Regions from separate parts of the Homo sapiens genome. Here regions 1, 2, 4, 5, 6 and 7 are each linked to region 3. The links are contacts of gene promoters, found by promoter capture Hi-C in blood cells and fetal thymus (Javierre and others, 2016). All regions are on one chromosome and are shown on one strand. Each heading gives the region's core, a stretch centred on a gene start or on the middle of the fragment in contact. The rest is flanking DNA. Distances are from core to core; before and after follow the strand shown. Region 1 overlaps PTPRJ (protein tyrosine phosphatase receptor type J). Region 2 overlaps CELF1 (CUGBP Elav-like family member 1). Region 3 holds the start of NUP160 (nucleoporin 160). Region 4 holds the start of SLC39A13 (solute carrier family 39 member 13). Region 5 overlaps CELF1 (CUGBP Elav-like family member 1). Region 6 overlaps CELF1 (CUGBP Elav-like family member 1). Region 7 overlaps CELF1 (CUGBP Elav-like family member 1).

Evidence for each region. Contacts are between HindIII fragments. The CHiCAGO score rates a contact against its expected background, and 5 or more counts as called.
Region 1: a contact is called between a fragment that was not itself captured here and the fragment with the promoter of NUP160 in region 3, in 1 of 17 cell types (naive B cells). The highest score is 5.6, in naive B cells.
Region 2: a fragment that was not itself captured here is called in contact with the fragment with the promoter of NUP160 in region 3 in 3 of 17 cell types (naive B cells, erythroblasts and endothelial precursors); the score reaches 5.8 in naive B cells.
Region 4: a contact is called between the fragment with the promoter of SLC39A13 here and the fragment with the promoter of NUP160 in region 3, in 1 of 17 cell types (activated CD4 T cells). The highest score is 5.2, in activated CD4 T cells.
Region 5: a fragment that was not itself captured here is called in contact with the fragment with the promoter of NUP160 in region 3 in 1 of 17 cell types (naive B cells); the score reaches 5.5 in naive B cells.
Region 6: a contact is called between a fragment that was not itself captured here and the fragment with the promoter of NUP160 in region 3, in 2 of 17 cell types (erythroblasts and M2 macrophages). The highest score is 6.1, in erythroblasts.
Region 7: a fragment that was not itself captured here is called in contact with the fragment with the promoter of NUP160 in region 3 in 4 of 17 cell types (erythroblasts, naive B cells, total B cells and 1 more); the score reaches 7.2 in erythroblasts.

Annotation. Positions count from the first base shown.
Region 1 is chr11:48,162,156-48,165,379 of GRCh38, reverse strand. It overlaps PTPRJ (protein tyrosine phosphatase receptor type J), which reads right to left. Exons shown (of 25, transcript NM_002843.4): 23 at 1,762-1,922; 24 at 865-1,000. Among named protein-coding and RNA genes, the nearest start is that of OR4B1, 53 kb to the left of the region's middle. The HindIII fragment of the contact is 196 bases long and covers 1,246-1,441 here.
Region 2 is chr11:47,474,492-47,477,711 of GRCh38, reverse strand. It overlaps CELF1 (CUGBP Elav-like family member 1), which reads left to right. Exons shown (of 15, transcript NM_001376376.1): 11 at 287-415; 12 at 753-866; 13 at 2,191-2,376. Among named protein-coding and RNA genes, the nearest start is that of RAPSN, 27 kb to the right of the region's middle. The HindIII fragment of the contact is 4,253 bases long and covers 1-3,220 here.
Region 3 is chr11:47,847,013-47,849,870 of GRCh38, reverse strand. NUP160 (nucleoporin 160) reads left to right here and starts at 1,521. Exons shown (of 36, transcript NM_015231.3): 1 at 1,521-1,652; 2 at 1,912-2,023. The coding sequence starts at 1,553. RefSeq lists an enhancer at 1,024-1,583. The HindIII fragment of the contact is 7,211 bases long and covers 1-2,858 here.
Region 4 is chr11:47,406,944-47,409,924 of GRCh38, reverse strand. SLC39A13 (solute carrier family 39 member 13) reads right to left here and starts at 1,335. Exons shown (of 10, transcript NM_001128225.3): 1 at 1,263-1,335. It overlaps SLC39A13-AS1 (SLC39A13 antisense RNA 1), which reads left to right and starts at 643. Exons shown (of 4, transcript NR_182308.1): 1 at 643-973. RefSeq lists enhancers at 1-75, 76-942, 1,231-2,053 and a silencer at 1,033-1,822. The HindIII fragment of the contact is 27,134 bases long and covers 1-2,618 here.
Region 5 is chr11:47,514,531-47,517,766 of GRCh38, reverse strand. The region is part of intron 1 of CELF1 (CUGBP Elav-like family member 1); the gene reads left to right. Among named protein-coding and RNA genes, the nearest start is that of CELF1, 37 kb to the left of the region's middle. The HindIII fragment of the contact is 4,290 bases long and covers 1-3,236 here.
Region 6 is chr11:47,532,004-47,535,244 of GRCh38, reverse strand. The region is part of intron 1 of CELF1 (CUGBP Elav-like family member 1); the gene reads left to right. Among named protein-coding and RNA genes, the nearest start is that of CELF1, 20 kb to the left of the region's middle. The HindIII fragment of the contact is 2,174 bases long and covers 230-2,403 here.
Region 7 is chr11:47,495,275-47,498,222 of GRCh38, reverse strand. All of the region lies in intron 3 of CELF1 (CUGBP Elav-like family member 1), which reads left to right. Among named protein-coding and RNA genes, the nearest start is that of RAPSN, 48 kb to the right of the region's middle. The HindIII fragment of the contact is 958 bases long and covers 863-1,820 here.

The DNA of each region.
Region 1 (3,224 bases), core at 94-2,593, 320 kb before region 3:
ATACCATAGATATTAAGTGTTCCTTTTCTCCGCTGGTCAGCCACCCTTCTGTAGCTATGATAATTGATAGTCTTTAAAATGTACAAGTCTGGGTGAGGATAAATTGCTGTATTAACATTTAAGCAGCATTATGATATGTCACATCATTAATGTTTGATGAGTTTGTTTCATTAGCTTATTTTAAAGATGGTCAGACCTTCTTAGAAACAAAGACTGGAAAATACCAGTTTTATGAGTTTAAAACCTGGAAGCCAAAGTTCAAAGATGTCCTAAGATTATTTAATGAGTCAGAGGCAGCAAGGTAAAGAATCCTGACACTATCTCAGTAGTAGTTCCATTACTGACATCAGTACTACTATGTCACTTGTATTGGGTAATTTAATTCCAAGTCAGCTTAAAGTCTGCAAAGAAATCCAGTGTTAGTTCACAGCCAAGAGCTGGAAAGATCTGGAAGGGTGACATATTTTAACACAAGTGCATGACACAATGCAACCTTTTAAAAATGGAGGGGAAGGGCCAGGCAAAGTGGCTCATGCCTGTAATCCCAGCACTTCGGGACACTGAGGCAGGCAGATCACTTGAGGTCAGGAGTTCGAGACCAGCCTGGCCAACATGGAGAAACACCGTCTCTACTAAAATTACAAAAATTAGCTGGGCATGGTGTGCGTGCCTGTAATCCCAGCTACTTGGGAGGCAGAGGCAGGAGAATCACTTGAACCCAGGAGGCAGAGGTTGCAGTGAGCCAAGATCATGCCACTGCACTCCAGCCTGGGCGACAGAGCAAGACTCCGTCTCAAAAAAAAAAAAAAAAAAAAAAAAAATGGAGGGGAAGGGTGGAATGTCAAATACAGATCTTGGCCTCACCTCTGTCTGCACCATTAAAGGCCTATGCATTCGAAGGTCATACACAATCCCATACACATCCACGGTGTTCTCATTCTCTATCTGGTAGATGAGACGATCAATGGCAATGAAAGTGCCCGTCCTTCCGACCCCAGCACTGAGAGAAAAGAGAAATAAGCCTATTACAGTGGGTTCCCTCGACTGCAACCCTCTTAGAGTTCCTCATTTGTACATATATCTTGCTTTCCTTCACTGTCACACTTTGAGGGCAATGCACAGGATCAGTACACATTTGCTCAGTTGAAGCCTCAGCAAGTCAGACAGCACTAGCTTGGGACTGGGGCCTAAGTCCCAAACTCACATTTGAGTCAGATGCCACACATATAACCCTTTGCTCAAGCTTCTTCAATCTCAGTTCCATTCAAGTTGCCCATAACCCAGGATGGCGGCACATTTTAGCCATTTTTTCCCCACTGGGCAACAGAGCCCCTCCTGTCTTCTGTCCTAAATTAATTCCTTTAGCTTCAAAGCTAACTTCTTATTGTTAGGGGTTGGCAAACTTTTTCAGTAAAGGGCCAGATAGTTAACATCTTAAGCTTTGCAAACCATATGGTCTCTTTCTGTCACTGTAGCAGAAAAGCAACCATAAACAATATATAAATAAATGGGCATGCTGTGTTCCTAGAAAATGTTATTTACAAAAACAGCAGCTGACCAGATTTGATCCATGGGTTACAGTTTGCCAACCCCTGTTTTGGAAGCTCAGGGCTTAGGGAGTAAGTCCATGGTTCCTTATCCAAACCTTTCCTGAATTCATAAATGCCTATTACATTCCCTCTTAGGCTTTGCTTTTGTAAAGTGCTCATAAATATATAATGACATTTGAAATCTGTCACACGTGACGTGCCATCTGCGTACCTGCAATGCACCAGAATCGGCGATTCGGGAGGACTCTGCTTCATGTAGTCACGAACGAGGTACCGGAAGTTGATGAGCAGGTCAGTGGTGTCGGGAACACCGTGGTCTGGCCAGGAGGTGAAATGGAACTGTCTCAGAGGGTGACTCTCACTTGTCTGGATCTAAAAGCCCAGAAAATGATTTAGATCCAGACAGAAAGGCTGCCTAACAACATCAAAAAGGCAGGGGAAATCAAGCAGAGCCTGAGTACTAACCAGGAGTTGTAATGACTAAAAATTAAACTTTACATTTGCACAGCAGCTGATAAAGTGCTTGCTCATCAAACCCTCACAATATGCTCAAGAAGGAGAGTTTATTATCCCCCTTTAAAGATGAGGCAGCAGAGATTCACAGAAGTGAAGTCATTTCCCCAACACTGATTTCAGATGCAACAGAAGTCCCTCATCCTCCAATTCTGCATTCAGATCCTTCCCTTCCTGCCACAGCTGCCTATCAATAATGAACTCACATTCTTACACCTGCACCTCCTTAGAGCTGCATGAGCCCCATCCCCGAGCCCCCCTGGGAATGTCACTGACAATAAAACCAAAAATAATTTACTCAAATACACCATGATAATCAGTGCCTTCTAGGCAAGAATGGCCTCATAATTCACTATGTCCCCTAGAGAAGTGAATAAAGTGACAGGCCACTAGCAAGCACCATGCAAATATTTAGAATTGGAGAGAGCTGAGAAAGGACTCCCCCAAAAAACCATCCATTTCAACATCTGAAAGACAATAGAGCTCATTATTACACAGACTGGTTCCCTACCTCATACCAAAGCATATACCTTGAAGCACCAGAAGCCCACCCCAGCTGGGGCGAGTCCTGTCCCTGACTCAGCTGTACTCGTTATGCCCATACCAGGGAATGACCATACCCATGTGACCTACATCCGTACCCATGTGACCTACATCTGCACTGCAGGCATTTCCATCTCCATTATGACAGCTGCCCTTTGACACTCATTTTTTGAAATGTATATTCATGATAAGAATGTGCAGTATTCAAAATTTGGAAAACAGGAAAAACAGACAGAGTGAAGGGAGAGGTGCTAGAAGACCTCATCACAGATAAAGTTAACATTCACACATTTAACCAGAAGTACTGATCCAAAGACAGAAACCAGCTGTGAGAGATGGAGGTGGGGGAAGAGGAAGAAAAAGGGAGGGAGAGGGAGGAGGGAGAGGGAGGAGGGAGAGGAAAGGGAGTGGGAGCGGGCAAGGGGAGAAGGAGGGGGAGAGGAAGAGGGAGAAGTGAGGAGGGTTATACTTAGTATTATCTTCGTGGAGGGGCAAAGGGGCTCAGGTTAGGGGTGGTAGTCAAAGGAAATCTTTAGCTCTGTTTGTAATTTCTCGATTTTCTAAAGGAAAATGTATTCAGGCATTTTGTATAATTAAAAAATAACATGGTACTAAATG
Region 2 (3,220 bases), core at 116-2,615, 370 kb after region 3:
GGTAGGCAGTTTTTCTTGGTTTCCTAATTGCCCACACCTTTATTAATGTACACTTGGCATGGTATGCTATTGGATTAGCCATCTCTTCTCTGAGGAAATGATTTCAAGTTTCTTAATGAGTGATACATGAATCATTTTTGGAGCCCTGTAATGTTGTTTGTAAGGCTTATCTAGAACAGTTCCTCTTTGTCAGGGACCAGCCCTCTGCCAGTGTGTGCTTGTCATTGCTGGAATGGATATGAAGCACCCTTATCTGCTGGCTAATCTCTTGCTTTGGATGTTGTAGGGTTGAATGCAATGCAGTTACAGAATTTGGCTGCACTAGCTGCTGCAGCTAGTGCAGCTCAGAACACACCAAGTGGTACCAATGCTCTCACTACATCCAGCAGTCCCCTCAGCGTGCTCACTAGTTCAGGTAAGCATGAGGATGACCCAGTGTGCCATTATGTGCCTTGGACAGATGCTTTGTGTTTAAAGGCAGAGTCCAGAGAGGGAAAATAGTTAACACCTGTTTCCAGAGAGGTCAGATTATGAGCAACAAATTTTCAAATGTCATCTTTTGTACTTAAGAGAAATCTTCCTGATTTTCAATGTGCTGTGGCCATTATTTGTCTCTGTCCTGCAAGGACAGTTGTTAGAATTAGTAACTGAAAACCTCTTTACAAATAGCATACTTGGATAGTGACACTTTTTCTTGTATTTGGCGAGAATGCCAGTGATGGGTTGAATTTTAACTCCTTGCTTTCTAATAGCAGGGTCCTCACCTAGCTCTAGCAGCAGTAATTCTGTCAACCCCATAGCCTCACTTGGAGCCCTGCAGACATTAGCTGGAGCAACGGCTGGCCTCAATGTTGGCTCTTTGGCAGGTAAGGGGCAGCACCTGGCTGTCATCAGACTATTCTTTGTGCAGGTAGCACATCTTAACCCTGGTAGGGGCACCACTGGAATGATTGCAGTGGCCCAGTGAAGTTAAAAATAATCATGAGGGCCAGGTGTGGTGGCTCACACCTCTAATCCCAGCACTTTGGGAGGTCAAGGTGGGCGAATCACGAGGTCAGGAGATCGAGACCATTCTGGCTAACACGGTGAAACCCCGTCTCCCCTAAAAATACAAAAAAATTAGCTGGGCCTGGTGGCGGGCGCCTGTAGTCCTAGCTACTTGGGAGGCTGAGGCAGGAGAATGGCATGAACCGGGGAGGCAGAAGTTGCAGTGAGCCAAGATTGCGCCACTGCACTCCAGCCTGGGTGACAGAGCGAGAGTCCGTCTCAAAAAAGCATGGGATTTTTAAATCAGACCTGAGTTAAATCCCACCTGTGTCCGTTAGCTAGCTATAACTTCGGACCACCTTTCTAAGGACATTTTCTCATCTTTGAAGTGGGAATAATAGAATACTTTGAAGGATTGTTAAAAATTAAATGAGGCCAGGTACAGTGGCTCATACCTATAGTCCCAGCAGTTTGGGAGGCCAAAGCAGGGGATCACCCTAGGTCACAAGTTCCAGACCAGCCTGAGCAACATAGTGAGAACTCCATCTCTACAAAAATTATCTGGGTGTAGTGGTGCATGCCTGTAGTCCCAGCTACTTGGGAGGCTGAGGCCGGGAGGATTGCTTGAGCCTGGGAGCTTGAGGCTGCAGTGAGCTATGATTGTACCACTGAACTCCAACCTAGGTGACAGAGTGAGACTCTGTCTCCAAAAAAAAAAAAAAAAATTAGAACATAGGTAAAGTGCTGCTGAGCACATTGCATAGTACAGTAGATGACACATAGAATGTACTTAGTACCTGTTAGTTGCTGTTTTAATGGTAGGGTTCACCCACATCTTGTCAGAAATCACATGTACCCCTTTGAGTTTGCAGTCTTGGGCCTCTTCTTTTATGACATTCTAGCTCATTATGAGAAAGTGGCAGAATAGCCAGATAGAAAATGGAGGCTCTCATTCCACAGATTGGATGAAGGTAATGGGGAGCACAACACCCGCGTATGGCATTTCTTAATGTCCCCATTAGCAAGGCCTGGTGAATGTCCTGAAATCTAGCCAGTCAGATAGTTTCTTCTCAGGGAGAAACTAAGAGGGAGATAAAGGGGAGAACTTTGGAGTTTTCCCTCTTCTAGATGTCCCAAGTAGACTTGTCTTTGGCATCAGTTTAGTCTTTCTAGTATATTAATCCTTCTCTTCCTCCAACCAAGGAATGGCTGCTTTAAATGGTGGCCTGGGCAGCAGTGGCCTTTCCAATGGCACCGGGAGCACCATGGAGGCCCTCACTCAGGCCTACTCGGGTATCCAGCAATATGCTGCTGCTGCGCTCCCCACTCTGTACAACCAGAATCTTCTGACACAGCAGAGTATTGGTGCTGCTGGAAGCCAGAAGGAAGGTGAGTGCAAAGGGAGATCGGGGTCAGGTATGGGGGGCGGTTTTCCTCCTATACCAGAACGGAAAGGCAGAGCAAAGGCTGAGGGAACCAGTTAGGTCGTCAGACCATTGTTTTTCTTTGACAGTGTCAAGTGTAGACTGAGAAACCCTGTGAAGTGTGATCTGCTTTTTAAATGTTTTCTGGATGTGGCTCAAATCAGAACCTCTGTGTGCCCTCTTGGGATGGGGCTGCAGTTTTTAGATGAAGCAACAGACACTGACCTTATCGGGTCTGACACATTTGACAAGAATGTTTCTGTTAGGAGGTCTTCTCTACAGATTACAAATCTATCAGAGGATCTTCTGTCTGGATGTCTTCTGTTTCAGTGTCCCTTTTAGCTATATCATTTGGCATTTTCCTCACTTTCTGATTGATGTTTGTCCTGATTGAAGACAAACTGAGGGGTGATGGGACAGAGTTTGGCCCATGAGTTGATGGAGTGGGAAGTATGTCGTTTGACACAAATGGTATTCAATTTAGGAGAAAAATAGGAGAGACTCTTTAGCCAGAAAGAGGCCTGAAGGTGACTTACATGAATAGAAGGTCCTGCTGACACCTCTGTGCTCAGATTTGACTGGGTTTTTATAACCAGGAGCTGGTATAAGCACTAATGTAGGAAAAAGATGAGTGTCCTCTTGTCACAGCAGAAAGTCCTGGTTCATCTCTCCTCACCTGCTGTGAATCACTTATATCCCCTAGGGATGTGGTAGTAGGAGAATGTAGCGTGAACCAATATTTTAGTGGAGACTGTGGAGACAGACAATAAATAAATGAAAGCATGAGGTGTTTCAGATGATCCTCTGGA
Region 3 (2,858 bases), core at 272-2,771:
TTTCTTTCTTCTTTTTTTTTTTTTTTTTGAGACAGTCTCGCTTTGTCACCCAGGCTGGAGTGCAGTGGCGCGATCTTGGCTCGCTGCAACCTCCACCTCCCAGGTTCAAGCGATTCTCCTGCCTCAGCCTCCCGAGTAGCTGGGATTACAGGCGTGCACCACCATGCCCGGCTAATTTTTTGTATCTTTAATAGAGACAGGGTTTCACCATGTTGGCCAGGTTGGTCTGAAACTCCTTACCTCGTGATCCACCCACCTCTGCCTCCCAGAGCGCTGGGATTACAGGCGTGAGCCACCGCGCCCGGCTAATTTTTCTATTTTTGGTAGAGACCGGGTTTCACCATGTTGGCCAGGCTGGTCTCGGACTCCTGACCTCAAGTGATCCTCACGCCTTGGCCTCCCAAAATGCTGGGAGCCACGCCCGACCCGGGTGTATAGTTTTCTCCAGTCATGTTCAGCTACAGATTTGAATGTAGTCGAAGTTGTAGTTTTTACCGATGAAGAGTTAGGCAATGAAGTAATTTAATGGTATTCAGGATAAGAAAGAAACACCAAAGAAGTGTGGGACAGTGAAGATTTTGTAGAACAATGGATTCCAGGTAGAATGAGGGGACTGCACTGCCAAAGTTGGTGTCCCAGAGGGAGTGAAGTGGAAAGATAGAAAATGATGGTCGGAACCAGATAAATGAAACGGAGAATGACAGGGAATGGTTGTGGTCACTGGTAATAGAAGTGCTTTAACTTCTATTGGCTATCACTAAGGAACAAAACCTTCCCCGCTGGAGATTAGCATTTTCCTCGATTTTGAACATCTACTCCCACAATATCTTCTAAACACCCACTATGGGCCCTTACTGCATTGACAGCCAAGTGCAAGATCACGGGTGGAAGGAATGGCAAATTCCTTTCACGTATCCAAGTGAGTAGCACTCAGGTAACCTCAGCAAGTGGCAGCACCAAGGTTTACCACATTACGTTTCATTATACAGGAATACACGAATACAGTCTCTTGGGGAGGGGAAAGACCAAAACCAAAGGCCTTTCCCTCACTACCCCTTCCTCACCCCGCCATCCCAAGTGTCGCCACTGAAGAGCGAAGGGAGGATCGCCAAAGATTTACAGACGGACACCCTAACCGAGGGAGAGGTGACCATAAACCCGGGATCCGGCAGAGGACGCCGAAAGGCCGGGACTCCCCGGACCTCGCCCCTCCTGGTCGACTGAGCCCCGCGTTTTAGAAACAGAAACAAACCCGGCCCCGCCCCCTGCCCTGCGGCCGCTGAGAAAAGAGCACCGCCCTCCGGAGGCGTTCCAGCCGGCCACTGGAAGGTTCCCGCAGATAGAGTCTGCCTCCCCTGCCCCCTTCTCTTCTGGATTCCTCGCTGCCCACCCTCATTCTCCCGGTGGAAGCCTCGCAACGAAGGGCCGGAGCCGCCTTTCTGCTCCCGGAATGCTTCACCTGTCCGCAGCTCCGCCCGCCCCACCCCCGGAAGTGACGGCGACCGCGCGGCCCTGCCTTTGTTCCGTTGGGCGTCGCGGCGACGGCGGGAAGATGGCGGCGGCGGGAGCCCTGGAACGGAGCTTCGTGGAGCTAAGCGGAGCTGAGCGCGAAAGGCCGAGGCACTTTCGGGAATTCACAGTCTGCAGCATTGGTACGGAAATGGCCAGGGAGGGTGCGATCCCATCTGTCCCCTCGGGCTCCTCTCATGGGTCCCAGGGTCCCTGACGCCCTGTTTCATCCTCCTGAGTCCACATGCCTCTAGCCCCGGGATCAGAGATTCCTTGATGTCCGACGTTTTCCTCTTTTCTTTGTATGGGTTGTCAGTCTGTCACTCTCTGCTTTGTCAGCTCCCTTAGTCCCTGTCATTTCTCAGAAGACGCGTGTGCAGGCTGACCACGTTCATTTTGCAGGGACTGCAAATGCCGTGGCTGGCGCCGTAAAATACAGTGAAAGCGCGGGAGGCTTTTACTACGTGGAGAGTGGCAAGTTGTTCTCCGTAACCAGAAACAGGTTCATTCATTGGTAAGTGTTGTGGTTCGCCAAACTCCCCTGGAAGGTAGGGTTTGGTGTATAAATTTTCGTCGCTGTACCCAAAGTGCTATTCTAGAAGCGGTAATTGACACTTAGGGAAAGAGAAAGATTGTTTTTTCAGTTCGTATCAGAATCGGGAAAACTGAGACACAGAGTTCTAGAAGAGATACCTCTCCCCCTCCCCCCCCCCACCCCCACACACACATACACCAAGCAACACCAGAAGCAGAGGAAATGTAGCTTAGGGGAATAAAGCCCATAAGACCAATTTTAAACATGAACCCGTTATGTTTTTATAGTGCTTTACAGCTTCCTTCATTGTACAAATACGTTCGAGCTTCAATATGTCAGGCATTGTGCTAGGTACCAGGACGAAATGAACAAAACTGCAATTTTCATCATGCAAGACGTTGTAGCAATGTCAGAATAGATGTAGACCCACTTTTCATGGGGAAATTTTTTGGAGGAAAACTTGCCCTAGAGGAAAAATATACGGGTTATGAGAGGCTAATAAGAGGACCAAATATAATTAGTGGGGCAGGGAAAGGCTTTAAGGAATTCACAGTTACCCTGAGATCTAAAGGACACGAGGTTAGCCAGGCATGGGGAGTGGACAGAGAGGAGTCCAGCAAGTAGGATCACCATATGCAAAGGTCATGAAGTGGAAAGAATGTGGCGGGTTTGGAACTGACCAAAGATCTGTGTGGCTTAAGTGCAGTGGGTAAAACAGAAAGTGATGTGAGATACTGAGGCTGGAGAGGTAGGCAGGACTCGGACCATGAGGGACCCTTAGGCCATTTTTAAGGATTTTTGGATTTTATCCTAA
Region 4 (2,981 bases), core at 86-2,585, 440 kb after region 3:
GGCCCTGTGTCTCCACACCCTACTCCTGAGCACTGCGTATTTTTTCCTTCTGAGCAGCTCCAGACTGTGTCAGCACCTCCGCCTGAGGCTAAACTTTCCCTAATGACAGGGTGAGGCGCTGGCTGGCTCTCCTCAGCCACCGGCGGCACGGCCCGGCCCAGCTGGGTGTCTCTGGCTGCCAGGGGAGGCCCTGCCGCCCGCGACACCCCAGAGACTGAGGCACCCCTTCTAAGGGGATGGGGTGGATTCAGAGAGACATACGTGGGGAAACTGAGCAGATGAGCCAGGGCAAGACCATCCACGCTTCTTCCTAGGACATGAGACCAATGTCCCCAGGGCACTGAGGGCAACAGGAGATGGGGCTGATGAGGAAGGAGCCTTTAGCCAGGGGATGCCTCTCTCTTGTATAGCGCAGGCTTTAGAGCCCCCACGGTGAATTCTATGCTGCACTTTGAGCTGTCTAACTCTGGGCAAATCTCTGAAGCCCCCCCTCTGAGCCTCAGTGCCCTCATCTGCAGGACAGGGATCAATATCACCTGCCTCAGCTGTGAGGACGAGATAAGCCTGAAAGTGCAGGTGGATGTACCCGGCATGAGGAGGCGCAGAGGCCCTGCCTGTGCCAGGGAAGGCCTGGGGCTCCCTGCAGCAGGAATGTGCCCAGCCGGCCGATCACAGGATGTGGACGTGAGTCAACCAAGCGAGAAGTTCCATCTGGAAACTCGGGCATGAGGTTTAAATGTGGTCTGCTCTGCCTCAGGCTGGCTGTGACCTTGAGCTGGTGATGTCCCTGCCTCAGTTTCCTCACCTTCTGATGGAGATGGGAGGGGAAGAAAGCAGCTGCCTCTGGGTGGTGGCAGAGATGCCCATGTCTAGGACCTCCAGGCCTTAACTAATCAGGGGCACTGATGAAGCCAGCGGGGCTCCACTGGGGACCACAGGCAAGACTGGGCCAGGACGAGGCGGTCACGCAGAGGTGAGGGGACCACAGGCTAGCGGGAGGGAATACACGGAGAGTCCAAGGGGAGAGGAAAGTAGAGAGTGAGAGAGCTAGAGAGAGGCGGGTGGGACGCGGAGAGGACAGCGAGGGAGGGATGGGGCGTGGGGCGCGGAGCGATGGGGGAGAGGAGGCCGAAGCGGGCGAGCCTGACTCCCGGGTCCTGGGAGCCGGCCCAGGTCTGATGAGGACCAGTCGGACGGGGCGAGGGATCGGCCGGGTCCATCACGCCCGGGGCGCGGGCCCCGAGGGTCCTGCTGGCACTCACCGTGCGGCGGCGGCGGCGGCGATCCGGGCGGCCCCAGCCATCCAGCTGCGGTGCCGCGCCCCGCCCAGGCTCTGCCCCGCCCGGCCGCCCGGCCGCCCGGCCCCCGGCCCGGGGCCGCCCCCGGCGCGCGGCCACGTCACAAGGGGCCTGTCCGGAACCCGAGGCGCCGCGTGCCGCGGGGTCGGGGGGAGTGGCGGCGGGAGGGCGCTTCCGCCTCGCGGCGGTGGGGGACCCGGGTAGAGGGCGCACTTCCGTTTGGGCAGGGCTGCGGGCCGGAGGGGAGGGTCGGTCGGAAGTGAGAGAGCCACACGCACCGCGCTCAGCCAGGCTGGGCAGGGACGGAAGCGGCGGCTCTGCGGGGACCGCGATCGACCAGGCTGCGGGGCTTGCGGATCTGGCCGCCGCTTCCCGTCCAGGGCCGCAGTCTGCCCGTGGCCGCACGGGGGCGCGCCCGGCCGCCAGACCACGCCGCCCAGGTCGGGCTGGGAGGACTACTGTGCGCTCCTGCTCTGAGTCAGCCCGGCCTGGCTCCTCCATGAGCAAGGGAAAGGGGAAGTGCCTGCCGCAGGGAGGGGCCTGGCCCCGGGAACCTCAGAAGAGGGAATTTTATTCTTACTCATCGAATTATTTTTATGCTTTGGTTTTTCACTGGGAACCTCAGGCCACTGTCTCCAGGGCTTGTAACCCTTTGGGGTCCAATGCATGGTGGCTGGACCCTGCTGATGGGAACTCCAAACCTGGGAGGCGAGGGCTCTGTGCTTCCCTCACCTGGAGGAAGCTAGACCTGACCTCTTTGGTTAGACTAAGGCAGCAAACACTGGATAGCAGTTCTTATAACCGCAATTTACTGACCACCTACTATGTGCTATTCACTTTACTCGCACTATCTCACTGAATCCTCATATTATCCCATTGTGGTGGGTACTGTTAGCCCAGGGTCACACAGTGGCACAGATGGCAGAGCCAGGATTCAAACCTGGGTGTCCTGAAGCCAGAGTATGTGATACCACTTCTCACGTCTAGGTCCTGAACAGCAGTGGGAGTCTGGCTTGGCGTTTCGAGTTTGTATTCTTCTCTGGAAATCAGCCAGTACAGGAGAAGATTCAGGAAGGGGCATGTGGGTACTCACTTGGGCAGAGATAGCGACTGAGTACAGGTCTCTTAAGTCTCTGACCCTCATCAGCCTCCCATGGCAGCTCCAACCATTTACTCTGTCACTTTCCCCTCTGCTGGGGCTCTTGAGAGCACACTCAGCTCTCAGGGCTGCCTCTGGTGCCTGTCCCACTTCATGTTGCACTGTTGGCCTTCCTTAGACCGCCAACTTCTCCCTGGTGGCCCAGCTTGTCTTCTGAAGCTTTCTGTCCATCTCACCCCACCGGGCCCATACAACTGCCAGGACGTTCTGTTCCCTCCCTGAGTTCCAAAATGGAATCCCTGGGTTAGTTTCTTGGCAAAGAAAAGCTACTCAGGGATCCTGCCCTAGGACTTCTAAAATGCCCCCCTCCCTGTATGCAAAAGCGCTCCATCTTATGCAAAGCACTTCACAATATGCAAATGATTTCACAATAACACAGTCAGCATTCCTGCCTCTGGAGGCTGAGCGCTCCTGGCCACCCAACAAGGGGATGGGCAAGACCCAGCCAGAAACGTTACTTGGTGCCAATGCACTACCCTTTCCTCCCACCTGGCCTGGAATTCCCATCGGATACCTAAGGCCCG
Region 5 (3,236 bases), core at 13-2,512, 330 kb after region 3:
GCAGTAGAATTGCTTGAACCCGGGAGGCGGAGGTTGCAGTGAGCCAATATTGCGCCATTGTACTCTAGCCTGGGCAACAAGAGCATAACTTCGTCTCAAAAAAAAAAAAATTTCTGTAGAATAGGTAACGTGTTCACATGTAAACAATTCAACCACTGTTCCACCTCTACAACTACTGTTAGCAGTTATTTCTTTATCCATCCAGAGATACTCTGTTCATATACAAGCCATGTGTAATTCCTTTCTTATTATATGAATACGTCTTGATCAGTTAGCTGCCTTATTTTCTTTAATAGCTACATAGTGTTCTGTTGTATGGTTATACTGTATTTAATAGCCTTCAATTAATGGGCATATGTTTTCAGGTTTTGCTGATGTAAACAATGTTCTTATGAATGCCCCTTTGCATACTTTGTATACATCAGATACAAGATTATTTGTAAACTATATTTCTAGAACTGGGATTGCTGAATTCAAAGGGCATGTCTTTTTTTTTTTTTTTTTTTCTCTGTTTGTTTTTTTAGACAGGCTCTCTCTCAGTTGTCCAGGCTGGAGTGCAGTGGCATGATCACAGTTCACTGCAGCCCGACCTCCTGGGCTCAAGTGATTCTCCCGCCTCAGCTTCCCAAGTAACTGGGACTACAGGCACGTGCCACCACACCCAGCTAATTTTTGAATTTTTTTGTAGAGATAAGTCTCACTATATTGCCTGGGCTGGTCTGGAACTTGTGGGCTCAAGCAGTCCTCCCAAAGTGCTGAGATTATAAGTGTGAGCCACTGTGCTCAGCTCAGTTTTCAATATTGATGAGATACTATCCCTTTTTATATTTTGCAAGTGATATTATCCATTGAAAAATACTAGTGAGCTGGGCGTGGTGGCTCATGTCTGTAATCCCAGCACTTGGGGACACTGAGGCAAGTGGATCACCTGAGGTCAGGAGTTCAAAACCAGCCTGGCCAACATGATGAAACCTTGTCTCTACTAAAAAAATATAAAAATTAGCCAGGCTTGGTGGCTTGGGCCTGTAGTCCCAGCTACTGGGGAGGCTGAGGCAGGAAAATTGCTTACAACTGGGAGGCAGAGATTGCAGTGAGCCAAGATCATGCCACTGCACTCCAGCCTAGGCGACAGAGCGAGACTCTGTCTCAAACAAAAAAAAAAAAAGAGAATATTATTAATGGAGATGGGGAGGCCTAATAATTGCAATGTCAGTCAAGCAATTACCCTAAAGAGTTGCTAGAATAAACATAGGATCTGCAATACCCGGAAGATTTAAGAAACCCTCTTGAGATGAGCTTAATTATCAGCTGTAGCAACCATTATTGCTATTATTGTTGGAGAAGAGGCAGGTTGCCTAGAGGAGGTGGAAGCAGCTGCTCGCCTTCCTTTTAAACTAAATTCGGGGGAATTTGGTGATACTAGCTAAATCTGCAAGTCATCTCTATTTTACTTTCAGTGTATTAGAGCATTACTTTCACTCACTTATTATGATCTTGACCAATTCAAAAAACATTTGTGGTCCATGGGCCATTCAGTCCTTTTCTCTCTCTCTTTTTATTTTTATTTTTTATTTTGAGACAGAGTCTTGCTCTGTCACCCAGGCTGGAGTGCAGTGACATGATTTCAGTTCACCTCCTGGGTTCAAGCAATTCTTCCTGCCGTAGCCTCCCAAGTAGCTGGGATTACAGGCGCCTGCCACCATGCCCAGCTAATTTTTGTATTTTTAGTAGAGATAGGGTTTCACCATGTTGAACCCGGGAGGCAGAGGTTGCAGGGAGCCAAGATTGCACCACTACCCTCTAGCCTGGGTGACAGAGCAAGACTCTATCTAAAAAAAAATAAATAAGTAAATAATAAAGAGAGGCAAAGTAATATTTTGAGTTTCCCAATAAAAGGCATTTTACAAGCTGCCTTATTTTACCAAATACAGCACTGTGACTCAAGAAAGTCCAAGTCCCAGTGGTTGGTTGTGGAACCCAGGTCTCTTAATCCCTTATCTTCCCTTTAGTTCCTTCATCTGAAAAATGGGAATGAAAATGCTGAAGAATCTCCTTTGAGCACTCAGAAAAATAATTATAGTCCTTTCCAAAGGTTATGTGTTATAATGACTCCGCAAGAGACATCAAGATTATAAGGTGATTTTAAAAGTCGCTCTGACAGGGCTTGAGAAAAAAATTAGTCACATTCTGCCTACATGGTACTAACATATGGTGCAGCCCTGATGAGCTGCACAAGTGGGCTGAAATCAAAATGCAGTTGGAAAGAGGAGCAGTAGTGACTCACTAGATAAGACAGATTTGGCCTCATGGCAGGGCAGTGAAACTAAGAAGGAACTGTGGTCTTAGAACATGCCAGATTTGAGCAAGTGATCATGAATATTATGGAAAGGTTGAATGACTGAGCCTTTGGGTTTGAATTAGGTACTTTGTCTGGTGTCACAGTCCTTGGAGCGAGCACCCTCCCTCGGTGGGTTCAGAGCTCCCACTCCCTCCACCTCCCTCACTTCTGTGTATTACTTCTGTGTATCATTCCCTGTGCCTTTGAAGGTAGAAGCCACCAGGCAAATACTTAACACTGGTGTGCCTGGAACATTGGGTTCAAACTGCAATGATAGGTAGAAGCGTTAGTAATTCTGCCCAGAGAAAGCTGTGCATTAGCTTAGCTACCATATGTAAATTGCTACTGCTGCATCCAGCAATTTGTTGTCCATTGTTGACAGTACTGCCATGGTAAAGAAACAGGAACTATAGAAAGAATTAGATTCCTCCTCCCACCTCCCAGCTCTCACCACAGTAGGAAGCTGTTTGGGGAGCAGAGAGGAAATACGGGGGATTTGAGAGTTACACCCAGTGTGTGGGCATTTGGGGAGGAAATAGGAAAAGAGATTTTTTAAATTATTTTATTTTTTGAAACAAGGTCTTGCTCTGTCAGCCAGACTGGAGTGCAGTGGCACGATCATGGCTCACTGCAGCCTCAAATTTCTGGACTCAAGCAATCTTCCTACCTCAGCATCCAAATTAGGGCTACAGGCGTGCACTGCCATGCCTGTCTGATTTTTTTTTTTTTTTTTTTTGTAGAGATAGGGTCTTGCTATGTTGCCGAGGCTGGTCTCAAACTCCTGGGTGCTAGAGATGTTCCTGCCTTGGCCTCCCAAAGTGCTGGGATTACAGGCATGAGCCATCATGCCTGGCCAAAAAGAGATTTTTAAAAATGTTTTTTGCATGCTCTGTTTGCC
Region 6 (3,241 bases), core at 67-2,566, 310 kb after region 3:
GGAATTTATATTTAGGTTTCAGTAGTTATTAGTGTGAGGGATACTCTTGAAATTTGTGCCAGGTACTTTTCTGGCTCAAACTATTATGGATCAGGCGTAGGGTAGCTGAAGTTCTAGATTATTACTGTGAAATCAAGTGCTGTTTTTGTTAATGTTCATTTGTCTGGTATAAGTTTGCTCTGGGGCTAAGCTAGATCTATGGAAAGACTTAACCCTTTTCCAGAAAGCTTCCAACTTAGGGAAAAAAATTTTTTTTTTTCTAATTCTGACTGTTCCACTTCTGAAAAAAACAGATCCACAGATCAGACTTGTAAATGATCTGTTTTCTTAAGATATCTTCTAACAGAATGGGTCTCCAGGGAACTGAGTGACAACACACATTTAGCTGGGAGTGGCAGTTCATCTCCCTAAACGTAATTTAACATCACATTTATCTACACACTACAGTTTTGGAGGCATACTTGGAGATTGAACTTATACTTCTCTTGGCTTATTTTATTTTATTTTATTTATTTTTGAGATGGAGTCTCGCTCTGTCGCCTAGGCTGGAGTGCAGTGGTGCGATCTCTGCATACTGCAAGCTCCACCTCCTGGGTTCACACCATTCTCCTGCCTCAGCCTCCCGAGTAGCTGGGACTACAGTTGCCCACCACCACGCCCGGCTAATTTTTTGTATGTTTTTAGTAGAGACAGGGTTTCACCATGTTAGCCAGGATGGTCTCGGTCTCCTTACCTTGTGATCTGTCTGCCTTGGCCTCCCAGAGTGCTGGGATTACAGGCATGAGCCATGGCGCCCGGCCAGCTTTATTTTTATAATTTTGTGTCTGATATATTTCTAACATAATTGTGTAGAGAAGCTGAGATTTCTTGAACTTTGGAAAACATTGAAATCTTGATAGAAAAAATACTAAATATGGCCAGGCGCCGTGGCTCATGCCTGTAATCCCAGCACTTTGGGAGGCCAAGGCGGGTGGATCACCTGAGGTCAGGAGTTCGAGACCAGCCTGGCCAATGTGGTGAAACCCCATCTCTACTAGAAATACAAAATATTAGCCGGGCATGGTGGCAGGCGCCTGTAATCTCAGCTACTTCGGAGGCTGAGGCAGGAGAGTAGTTTGAACTAAGGAGGCGGAGGTTGCAGTGAGCAGAGATTGTGTCACTGTACTTCAGCCTGGGCAACAAGAGTGAAACTCTATGTCCAAAAAAAAAAAAAAAAAAAAAAGGAAAGAAAAAATGCTAAATATAACTTATGTTGTGGTCTGGAAAGAAATAGCAGCATACATAGGTCATAGAAACTTCAGTTGAGTTTATATTGATGTAGCTGCTTTTATGAAGAGGGAGGGGAAAAACTAAGAGTTGAATATATTTAACTATTGTGCAACAGAGTGTCACTAAAATAGTTATAAATATTCCTTTTTTTTTTTTTTTTTTTTTTGGGGGAGAGTCTCGCTCTATTGCCCAGGCTGGAGTGCACTTGAGCAATCTCAGCTCACTGTAACCCCTGCCTCTTAGGTTCAAGTGATGCTTCTGCCTTAGCCTCCCAAGTAGCTGGGATTGCAAGTGCCCGCCACCATGCTCAGCTAATTTATGTATGTATGTATGTATGTATTTATTTATTTTTTGAAATGGAGTCTCGCTCTGTAGCCCAGGCTGGAGTGCGGTGGTGCGATCTCAGCTCACTGCCACTTCCGCCTTCCGGAGTTTAAGCAGTTCTCCTGCCTCAGCCTCCTGAGTAGCTGGGACTACAGGCATACACTGCCATGCCTGGCTAATTTTTTGTATTTTAGTAGAGAGGGGGTTTCACCATGTTGCCCAGGCTGGTCGTGAACTCCTGAGCTCAGGCAATCTGCCTGCCTTGGCCTCCCAAAGTGCTGGGATTATAGGCATGAGCCACTATACCCGGCCAATTTTTGTATTTTTAGTAGAAATGGGGTTTCACCATGTTGGCCAGGCTAGTCTTGAATTCCTGACCTCAAGTGATCCCCCCGCCTCAGCTTCCCAAATTGCTGGTATTACAGGCGTGAGTCACTGCGCTTGGTCTAATATTTCTTCAGAAATGTATACTGTATGGTACTATTTCTTGAAGGTAGCTTGCTGAAATAATAAGATCAGCTTTCTGAATTGCCAGATCCAGAACATCAAAAAAAAAAAATACTGTGATAGAAAAAAAAAAGCCTTCTGGATCCACCCCCAGGAATCCTAGTGGGTTCCCATGGTAACAACCTCTTTGCTTACAACTTGTCACTGTGTAACTGTCACTGGGGTTCAGAGAAAAGCCAGTATAGCAAGAACTGTGTGGCATTAACAACTCCTTAATAAAATGCTGTTGCACATTTGCAGTGAGCCAGAAATAGAAAAGAAAGTTTAAAGGTTTTAATTTCTGTGTTCCGTTAATTAGAAGCTTTAAAAAGCTGCCTAATTATGGTAAGGTGCTGCAGCAGTGGGAAGGTGGTGGGTGGCCCAGGCTGGCATAGGAGGGAGAAAAAGTAAGCTATAGGCTGAAAATGCTAGAAACTTCAGAGATTTTTTTCTTCTTTAATCCTATCATTTTGAAAATGAGGGACATGGAATGCCTTACTTAAATTCACATAGAGATAGAAGCAGGAATTTTCCCAGCACTGTTCTGTTGTTTCTACCCACACATTGGATTCACCTTTCCTCTACTTTTCATAGTGAAATCAGTTTCTGAGGTTAGCAAAGGACCTTTACAAAAGTTATGCAGAGAAACTTTCTATCCATGGAAGGAATCCCTTCTACAGCATCCTGGGCAGGCAGCGTCTGCCTCTTTCCTCAGGTGGAGGTGACTTGTTTAATTGGCAAAAGCCCCTGTACTGGAGTTCAAAGGGAAGATAGTTTTATGTGGATTCCCCATTTTAAAGCTATACATTGTTTTTCTCTCATCATAAAAGAGCAATTGTACACTGGGCATGGTGGCTCACGCCTGTAATCCCAGCACTTTGGGAGGCCGAGGTGGATCACCTGAGGTCAGGAGTTTGACACCAGCCTGGCCAACATGGTGAAACCCGTCTCTACTAACAATACAAAAATTATTTAGGCCTGGTGGTGGGTACCTGTAGTCCCAGCTACTCAGGCAGCTGAGGCAGGAGAATCGCTTGAACCTGGGAGGCGAAGGTTGCAGTGAGTTGAGATTGCGCCACTGCACTCCAGCCTGGGCGACAGAGCGAGACTCTGTCTCAAAAAAAAAAAAATAAAAATAAGAGCAGTTGTAATCAGAAAAATT
Region 7 (2,948 bases), core at 92-2,591, 350 kb after region 3:
GTTGCCCAGGCTGGTCTTGAACTCCTGGGCTCAAGCTATCCTGCTGCCTCGGCACCTGGCCTGTCTTACTCTTTTGAAGTGGATCTTATGCCTCCTCTGTAGTCTCCAAAATTACGGTAATTTAAATGTCTTTTTATGAGAGTTCTTTACTACTAAAATTTTATTTTAGCTGTAACAGGTGAAATTAAAGTGAATATCATGATAAAGATTTAATACATAATAAGGATATTTCCATGTCCCAGGATTTATGATCCTTAGAAACAAGGCTGTTGCTCAAATTGTCTTTCATTGTAATACTTCCTGTGCTTTGCCACTGCCTGGTGTTCAACCCAACATTGACACAGCATTCTTCTCAGCCTGCTTTCTAATCTTTTAAGAGATTGGACCCATTCAATATCCCATTAAATCTGGACCATGGACCACTGCATGAAAGTCACCTGGAACTTAAAAATTCAGATGTTTTTATTCTAGAATAGGACCCCCAAGACTCTAGAAACAAGTGTCCAGCATGTTTTTTTGTGCACACTAAAGTTCGAGAGCTAGTGGACTTAACACAGGTCATTCTCAGAGTCAGTCGGGGAATGGATTGTCAACATTTTTTCCAAGTACGTTTGCATCTGTTTTAGTCACCCATCTTCACCAAAACTTTGCAAGGGTGCCTGGGCGTAGGCCATTGCCCCGATTTTAAACATGAGAAACCCAGTTGAGAGAGAGATTGAGGACAAATAGTAATCAGTGTTGGGCCTGAAGTACAAGTTTAAAGGTAAAGGTCTTTTTATTTTTGCCCACTAGACCAGGCTGCCTCTAGTGTCAGTGAACGGTTAGCCAATGTTCTTGATTCTTCATTGATCACTCTTAAGCTTCCACTGGTGCTACTTTGCCTGCATCCTAAGATATGGATATTTTCATGAGTTGTGTCCCAGACTTTTTTCTTTTCATTCTCCCATTGCTTAAGGGGACACTGATGTGCTTCTCTGCTTCTCAGATCTCTGTTCCCCCAAATGTCTTCTGAGGTCTAAGACTTTATTCTAAATACTGCTCATTGATTACTTTTCATCTAGAGACTTCCCCACAAAAAGTAATTCCCATATTGTCTTCACTAGAACCCAAGAGTTGTTAGTTTCTTTCTCTTCCTCTCCTCCTTGGAGTTCAAGTGAACTCCAGATCCTAGTGTATCCTGGCCCAAAATTCCTCAGTATTGGCTGAGACTGGGTGCTAATCTTAGGTACTAGTTTATGCAAGAGCCTTCTGATCTCCATGTTCCCTGCCTTATTTCATCCTCCAGATTATTTTTAGGTATCTTTTAAAAGGACAGATCTGATCATTCACTTAATCTAAAATCTTGGAATAAACTCCAAACCTGTCTATAACATGGAAAGCCCTTCACTGGGTCTCTCTGACCTACCTCTTTATTCTTAGTCAGCTTTCTAGTATGATCTCTTCTCTGTTTCTGTACTCTGCCCACAACTTTCTCAAGTCCTTTTTCTCCCTTCTGATGTTATCCCACTTTTCCCATCTCTCCTCAGTCCTTACCATTTCTTCATCACCCTTAGGCCTCTTTCCTCCATGCCACGTAGCACTTTTTCTAGTTGCCTACTCTATGCAGCTGAAATCTCTGCACACACACCTCCCCCTCCTCCAAATAAAGTAAAATCATATTAGCCACTTCTTTCATAGAACTTTTAAACATTCCTTTATAGGATTTGTAGAGGATTATAGTTGTGCCCTTCTACTTTTTCAGTGACATTGCCTCAAGGGCACATATTGCTCAGTCTTACAGAGCCCTATAGTGTGTAGTATCTGGCACCATAGCAAAAGCTTGGGAATTACAGTTGAATGAATGATATTAAAGATGATTGCAGAGATAAGATCTCCAGATCTTATCTCCATACCTCAGGGAAGAAGGCTGAAAACCTTTAAAAGCATATTGTTAGCTATTCTGTTGTTGGATGGTGACTTTAAATTATTATTGTCTTTATTGTCCTTAGAGATAGCTTTTTCTAGTACCTAACACCCCACATGATAGGAAGATTGACCTTTATCCAAATGAAAATTAACTTTCTCACAGCATAAATGTATTATTCTGTCTTGTTCTCACTAGGGAGCAGCTGGTAAGTAACTCAGGCCAGTGTTTCTGGGCCCTTTTTATTCTCACGCACTTCTGTTCCAGTTTTTCCACAGCACTGTATGTGAGCCAGAGGGACCTTGTATAAGGGTGGGTGGTAGCAGAAGTTTGGAATGCAACAAGTATTTTTGCCTGCTGGGGAGGTGGAGGGATTGGTAAGTATCTGAATTTTTTCTTTTTGTATAATTAAAGGGAAGTCAACAGGTAATGAGAAAGGGGGAGTGAAAAAATAATGAAAGGTTTCAGGAATTATTTTTAAACAGGTCCCGTTTGAAGGTCTTGTTTGGCTGCAAGGAACAGATGTCCACTCAAGCTAGCATATATGAAAGGGCTTTCTTATAAGGACACAGGTGGACTGAACTGTAATCTAATCAGGAGCTCTGCAGCTAGAAGACCTAGAAAGTGTATCTTTCTGACTCCAGGATATATAACTGCTCACTCTACATGTACCTCCTTTCTACTCTTAACTACCTTATAACTTTGGTTGCAACATGACTTTTCTTCGGATCCCTTCTCCCTCCCCTTCACATTGAGACATAATTCACATACTATAAAGTTTACCCTTTAAAGTGAGCAATTCAGTGATTTTTAGTATATTCCAGAGTTGTGTAACCATTTCCACTATTTAATTGCAGAACATTTCATCACCCTTAAAAGAAACCCTGTACCCATTAGCAACCATTCCCCTCTTCTTCTCCATGTCTCCCTTCCCCCATCCCCATTCCTAAGCAACCACCAACCTACTTTCTGTCTGTAGATTTGCCTGTTCTGGGCATTTCATATAAATGGTAACATATACTATGTGGCCTTTTGTGACTGGTTT